2 separate regions of the Homo sapiens genome follow, and region 1 is linked to region 2. The links are contacts of gene promoters, found by promoter capture Hi-C in human tissues and cell types (Jung and others, 2019). All regions are on one chromosome and are shown on one strand. The core of a region is centred on a gene start or on the middle of the fragment in contact, and the rest is flanking DNA. Distances in the headings are between cores, read along the strand shown.

Region 1 (3,606 bases), core at 48-2,547, 300 kb after region 2:
CTAAGTTAAGGATTGAATGCATTAAAGATTGTGTAGGATGTGCTAGGAAAGTTCATATGGTTGCTAAAGGTGTGTGTTATTCCCTTCCCACAGGGACTAAATAAATAGAGCCTTACCACGTGATCTCACCCCCTGTGCCTGTTTACTTATCTATGAAATGGAGATAACTTCCTAACCCCACAGGGGTGCCAGGAAAATGAATGCTTGTAAATCATAATATTTAACATTCATGTGACTTTTGCCCAAAGCATTTTGCTTAATAATTTAATCTACTCACTATTCCACTGAGAAAGATAGTCTCTATCACTGAGATGAAGTGAAAGGCATAAAGTGTCAAAGGGACTAGCTCCAGGTCACACAGCAGGTCAGACAAAGCTAAAATAATGGTGCCATAATTATTTGACTATTCTGCCTTTGGTTCTTCAGTAGTGTTTCTAGAACACTGATGCTATTCATATTTTTATTATGGTTTGAGTTTTCATCTGTACTTGCTTAAAATAACAAGTTACTTTTTTTAAAGTTACTTACTACAGATCTATAAAGCAGTTTATTTTCTAGTGCCTAATAATCTTTGACTGATAATTTCTCAATAAATAGTACCTCTCAGTGCTAGCTTTGACCAAGGGCTTGTACAATCTGAGGGATCATGAAGTTTGAAGAGAAGCTAGAGACATGTAGGATTGAGAGGAGGAGGCAAATTTACATACATTGTTTTGTCCTGGGTGAAAGATCAGTAGTCTTTTCTTTAAAAAAAAAAAAAAAAATATATATATATATATATATATATATATATATATATTTTTTTTTTTTTTTTTTTCTTCCAAGAAAGTCATTGTCACCAAGTGGTCTTTTCTTCACTCCTCCTTGAGAAAGGAAAATGGGTCAGATATTAGTTTTTCTGTCACCCAGAAGTTCCTGTGGTGTTCAGCATTTTATGACTTGCCATGTACGATGTTCCTCTGACTTATCAGGCAGAACCGGAGTAAGAATTCCAGCTTTGGGCACAATAAATACTGTGTCATAAATATCACAGACATTAAGTGAATTAAGCTCCTTTTTGGAATTGAGATAAGAATGGCAGTGTGCTTCATGCAAATGCAGTGAATCTGGTTTAATCTTCTCCTAGCAGAAATGTTTGATGTCTTAACAAATATCCCTTGTAGACAGTGACATGGGGCTCTGGTAAATATTGACTACCTCTGCCTGAGCTTTTCCAGTAGGTCCAATCTCTGCTCCCCCATCTCCTTATCAAAATAGATTCTTAGTTCTAAAATATGAATTTATATTTTAGTCGTCTTATTCTGGGAAGAGAGATGATAGTTTGTCAGTGTTCCTAATAAGTGCAAAGTCACCAAATTTAGTATATTTATATGGTCACACCAGTTGGCAGATGTGACTCATTTTGGGTCAGCCAGTTACCATGTATAACTTCTGTGTCTGTAGCTCAAATTGTTTGATTTCTAATTTGCTCTGTGTATGTGTGGTGGTTTGGTTGGGAGGACATTTACTACCACTGAGTATATAATGAATCTTACATAAACTGGTTCATTAAAATGTAGGCAATTTAGCATTGTGGTTAAGAGCATAGTCTCTGGAATTGGACTACCTGGGTTTGAATATTTGCTTACTGACTTACTAGCTGGATGTCTTTGGACAAATTCTAAGCTTAATTTCCCTACTTACCAATTTCAAAAAGTTATTATGAAGATTAAATAAGGTAATAATGCAAAGCTCTTACTTTTTTTTTGAGACAGGATCTCACTCTGTCATCTAGGCTGGAGTGCAGTGGTATGACCACAGCTCTCTGCAGCCCCTTGACCTTTCAGGCCCAGATGATCCTTCCACCTCAGCCTCCCTGGCAGCTGGGACTGTAGGTGCATACCACTATGCCTGGCTAATTTTTTGTAGAGATGGGGTTTCTCCATGTTGCCAGGCTGGTCCCGAACTCCTGGGCTCAAGCAATCCTCCCGCTTCTGCTTCCCAAAGTGCTAGGATTACAGGCATGAGCCACCATGCCCAGCCCACTTGTGTTTTTATGCTGCGATTGCTGTTTGGTCAAAGAAGCAATTTAATGGCTATAAGTTAGTTTTTCGTGAGGGATCATTTGTTGTGCTTTTTTTTTTTTTTTTTTTTTTTTGAGATAGGGTCTCGCTCTGTCACCTAAGAGGTGGCACAGTCACAGCTCACTGCAGCCTCAACCTCCCGGGCTCAAACAATACTCCCACTTCAGCCTCCCAAATAGCTGGAACTACAGGCGCCAAGCCACCATGCTGGTATTGATAGGGAAAATAGAAGTAAAATAACATTGAACATATATTATGTGCTAGGATTTTTCTAGATCTACACAGTCCAGTATGGTAGCCAACTAGCCACATGGGGCTATTTAAATTTAAGTTAATTAAAATTAAATAAAACTTAAAATTCAGTTTCTGGTGGAAAATCTCCTGGTAGACTTTGCCTGAATGCTAAATCAACTTTTGTTCTTAAAAAAAAAAATTCTGTTCCTCAGTCACAGCCACATTTCAGGTACCCAATAGCCACAACTATTGTATTAGACATCACAGATCTGGAACATATCCATCATCATAGAAGTTCTCTTGGACAGTGCTATTCTAAATACTTACATATGTATCTGTTATTAAGTATCCTTATTATGACACCATAAGATGTGTGTTATCCCCATTTTACTTACAAGGATGTTAAGTATTTCTCTTAGATATGTTTCCAAAGCACATATATACTATGTTAAAGGTTAAGATTCCAGCTTCAAATATCAAACTCTTTCATGGTGTCTTCTTTATTAATTAGTGGACTAATGTACAAGTGTATTTGTGCATTTAGGGAAACATGAAATGTTCAGTTTTGTTAAAATGTCGAAATTGCACATAGTATTATATAGATAAGTTTGAATATATGTCCATTGTAGGTTTTCAATAAGTGTTTGCTGAAAAAGTGTCATCCAGCTAGGTCTATATATTCTGCTGAGAATATTAATTATGCATTTATACACTGGAAGGGAATTCTTAATGAATGGAATACCGGAAGAAGTATTCTTAATAAATGGATGTTAATTTGTATAGGAATTAAAGGCATGAAATCATCAGAAGACGAAAAAAGACAGATGGGGAAAAAATTCAGAAGCCTTCAGTTTAGTTGTTTATTTAAATGCTTGTATACATTTAAGATGGTCTCTTCTTGTTGGTTAGACCCCAAAGAGCAGAAAAAGGGCTTATACTATGCTCAAGGCTTGCTTTCTTCGGCCAGGCACAGTGGCTCATGCCGGTAATCCTAGCACTTTGGGAGGCCAAGATGGACAGATCAGTTGAGCCCAGGAGTTCAAGACCAGCCTGGCCAACATGGTGAAACCCCATCTCTACTAAAAATACAAAAAATTAGCCAGATGTGGTGGCACACACCTGTAATCCCAGTTACTCAGGAGGCTGACGCAGGAGAATAGCTTGAACCCAGAAGGTGGAGGTTGCAGTGAGCTGAGATCATGCCACTGCACTCCAGCCTGGGTGACAGAGCAAGACTCTGTCTAAAAAAAAGGCTTCCTTTCTCAAATTCTCCTTACAGTTTGACTAATGTCAGAGGATGATGAGTTAT
Region 2 (3,694 bases), core at 1,152-3,651:
AATTCTCGGCTAAGTTTTCTGTTTTTTGTAGAGGCAGGTCTCACTATGTTACCTAGGCTGGTCTCCAACTGCTGGGCTCAAGCGATCATCCTTCCTCAGCCTCCCAAAGTGCTGAGATTACAGGCATGAACCACCACACCCAGCCTAAATTATGGATTTAAAATTTAGTTGCACAGCTATGCTTTCAACTTAAAGCTAAGCATACCAATTATATACAAGTCTCAGGAATAATGAAAATTTTGTTTCTGATGACAATCTTGAGCCAAAGTATAGCTTATCTTCATTATTAGGCTACATTCAATCATGTATAAACTGTACTGAAGAAAAAACTTTACTTTTCAAGAGACCCAGGCATATAGTTGATAATCTAACTACACACTTCCCCAAATGTGAAGACAGCTAAATGGGTATCCATTTCAGCAATGGGACACCCAAAAAAGAAGAGGTAAAATGTATTTTCTGAGCTGTACTTGGCTTAGTTGTACCAGTTGACTAGGTGGTTTGATGTAACAAATGTTTTCTAAGACATTTCCCATATATATGGGCACAATATCATATGAAAAACCCTAAGGAGAAAAAGAAAAAACTTTAAAAACTTTTTTGAAATATCTTTAAAAGTTTTGGGATGATTAATAAAGGGTCTGACCTTCATGACTTGTTTTCCAGACTTGACAACAGGACAGTTATGTACAAAGATCACCTATGGTCCCAAATAATCACATCTCCTGTACAGTAAAACAGTAGTATGGTAATTTTTTTAAAAGGGCAGGACAGTTTCAGAAATACACAAATCAAAACTGAATAAGAGTCGAAATCTTTTCACAATCCAGACAGACCTTTTAAGACGATATGGGGGAAAGCGAAACAATGGAGCAGGAAAAAGAGATATGGTCTAAATTGATTAGAGAAACTTCCATGTAACAAAATTTGTAAAAAAAAAAAAAAAAAATTTGTAACTCTCTCCCCATCTCATCTCCCCAGTTTGAGTGCTTTTTTGCAACCATTTGACACGTAATCTATTCAACAAAGTTCTTAGCTATCGTTATGTCACTGGTTTCTTTTACGTAAGTTTTTCTTATATCAAATTGGCAAAAAGAGATATGGAATTCAGGAACTTGTAACACCATTAGTAACAAGACAGCCCCGCAAATATTTTGAAAATTAATTTACGAACTTGTGATCGTCTGAAGCATACTTTCAAATTTAATAAGCCAAGCATGATCATTTGTTAGGCAAACCGTTATGCAACACCTTTCTGTCCCTGAATTAATTACTTTAGAACCATAAACAATACTTTTCCTTTTTTAAGGACAAGTACTATCCATGTTGCAATTTTCTCTTAAGACTGCAAAACTGCTGCTCTTGCCCCCAGAGATAAAGCAGTTTTCTTAAATTCCAAATTTCCAGGAATATGACAACTACTTCTCTAAGGAATAGAGAATGAAAAAAAATATACTGTCAGCAATTTTAAGAACCACCTCCTCGTATAAGCAGGGATCCAGGCTGCTATGACATTTCCAAGCTCCTCAGAAACTATCTACCATGCTGCCACAAACAACAGAAAAGAACTCGAGGGTAGGAGCAATGCCATGTTGAATTTAACGTTGCACCAACACCTCCTTCGAACTTAATCTGAAGTTATCCGTTATCTCAGCCTATCTTCACAACTATCCTAAGAGGTAGGTAAGGGAGCTGGCTGGCTGCCCAGCCTCTACGGAACACACAACCTGGCTAAAGGACACGCACTCCAACTAGACAATGGCAAACCATTCTAAAGTCTAGAAGAAGGGTACTCCAGCAAAGAGTAATGCCGCCTAGATAACCCCAAACTTAAATCCTCCAAGCGTTTCCCCGCCTCGCAGTTTCGCCGACTCAGGGGCCCCCGGGGAACTGGGGCTGGGCTGCGGGGAGGTCGCGGAGGAGCAGGGCGAGGGGCGGGAGACCGAGCGATGCCCGCCCGACGCTCACCTCGCGCACCTGGGCCGGGCGGGAGGAGCAGGGATGCTCAGAGGACAGTAGCTGGGTGACATCCCCTACCTGGCCCAGCTACTCTGACTCACCTGCGGAGCCGATTTCCATTCATGGAGCTGGGGGGAGTGCTTCGAGGGAGAACGGAGCCCGCCACTGGCGGCAAGGAGGCGGCCCGGGGGGCGACGCGGCGCGACGCGACGGGCACTCTCACTCGGCCCCGAGGCGGGGGCGGCGACGGCTTCCCCTGAGCAACCGCACTCCGAAAGCTCTGGGCCGGAAGAGTCGCGGACGGAAAACGGCACAGGACTAGGCGAGAGGAAGGGGAGATGTGAGGCGCGGACAGAGGGGAGTCCCGTCCGGAAGTTGCATCGCCCGCGGCCGCCGACGCTCCCACCGCTCCTCCACGACTGCGGGCCGCCGCCGCCGACCTGCCCGGGGCCGCCCCGGAAGCTCGCCGGCGTCAGTTCCGCTGCCTGGCTTGCCCGGCGTCCTCGCCTCGCCTCTGGGCCCCGAGCCGTGCCGGAGCGACGTCGGGGCAGGAGCGGCCGGCGCGGAGGACGCCGGGGAGGTGTCCGGGAGCCGGGCCACATGCGGCGGGCTCGGCCGTACCCCGCCGGGCCGTGCCGGCCGGAGACAACGCGGAGGGGCAGGACTACTCGCGCCGCACGAGTGGGGGCGGTGCCTGTCTGCGACGACGTCGCGGCTGGCGGCGGGGCTTACCTGAGGAGTAGCCTACCTGGAGCCGGCGGGTGAAGGACCCCGAACTGCCGCGGAGGCCCCGAGCCGAGCCCGCTGGGGTAGGGCCACCCTCCTTCCTGAGCCCCCGCCACGCCCAGTCCGATCCACCCCACGCGCCGCCTCCTCACAGGCGGTCAAGTGACCACCGCAATTGACCTAAGTCCTAGGCTGCTTTAACGACCATTTTTAGGAAAAAAAAAATGTATTATAGTTTGGAAAAGATGACTAACAAACAGGACACTACACAAACATCAGATCGAGTAATTTCCATGTTTAAAACTCTTTAATAGCGCCTCGTCACACTTGAAAACCCAAACTCCTTTCCAGGGTGAAAACGCACGGCGTAAATGGGCCCCGCCTGTGCTACAGCTATACTGGTTGGCTTCCAATTCTCCCAACGGGCCAACCGCTGCTTTTTTCTGACTTGGAGCTTCTCTGCTTTTGGTTCCCTTGGCCAGGAACCCTCTCTCTCTTCTCCACCCTCCCCTTACGCCCTACCCCACAGCTTTTTTTTGCGTCTCAACGAAAGACATCTGAGACGCCTTTTCCGGACCACCCATCTATGGTGGGGCACCTGTTAGTCTACTACAGTATTGCCTTGGTAGCCCTTTGCCCAGTCTGTTATTTATTTACTACTTGTGTGCCCCCCACCTCACTTGAATGTCAGGCAAATATTAGGTCCTTAATAAATATTTGTTGCCTTAATGAAACATACTATTTTATTCAGGCTGAGGAATCATTCATAATTTCTCCCCATGTCCCTATGCTTCAGTAATACGGTTTTTTTTAATCAAAATAATTTTTTAAAGAGGAAAAGGAGAAAGAATATCCTATCTTCAGTTCCCCTCACTGTGGGACTTTGGATCAGTCACTTGATCTCTCTGGGCTTCAATTTTCTTATCTGAAAAATTGAGAGAACAGCATGTACCTTACACAGTTTGTAAGGTTAGGTAATATACATAAAGCACAGAGAAAATCCTCCCCA

Evidence for each region. The method cuts DNA at HindIII sites, captures the fragments that hold promoters and counts their contacts. A contact is called where the count stands out against the background at its distance.
Region 1: a contact is called between a fragment that was not itself captured here and the fragment with the promoter of AGO3 in region 2, in 1 of the 25 tissues and cell types used here (adrenal gland).

Annotation. Positions count from the first base shown.
Region 1 is chr1:35,625,790-35,629,395 of GRCh38, reverse strand. The region is part of intron 3 of PSMB2 (proteasome 20S subunit beta 2); the gene reads left to right. Among named protein-coding and RNA genes, the nearest start is that of PSMB2, 14 kb to the left of the region's middle. The HindIII fragment of the contact is 9,137 bases long and covers 1-3,606 here.
Region 2 is chr1:35,929,812-35,933,505 of GRCh38, reverse strand. AGO3 (argonaute RISC catalytic component 3) reads right to left here and starts at 2,401. Exons shown (of 19, transcript NM_024852.4): 1 at 2,061-2,401. The coding sequence starts at 2,079. AGO1 (argonaute RISC component 1) reads right to left here. Exons shown (of 19, transcript NM_012199.5): 19 at 2,974-3,694. RefSeq lists enhancers at 1,214-1,736, 1,737-2,261, 2,262-2,785 and silencers at 1,899-2,238, 2,249-2,758. The HindIII fragment of the contact is 14,720 bases long and covers 1-3,694 here.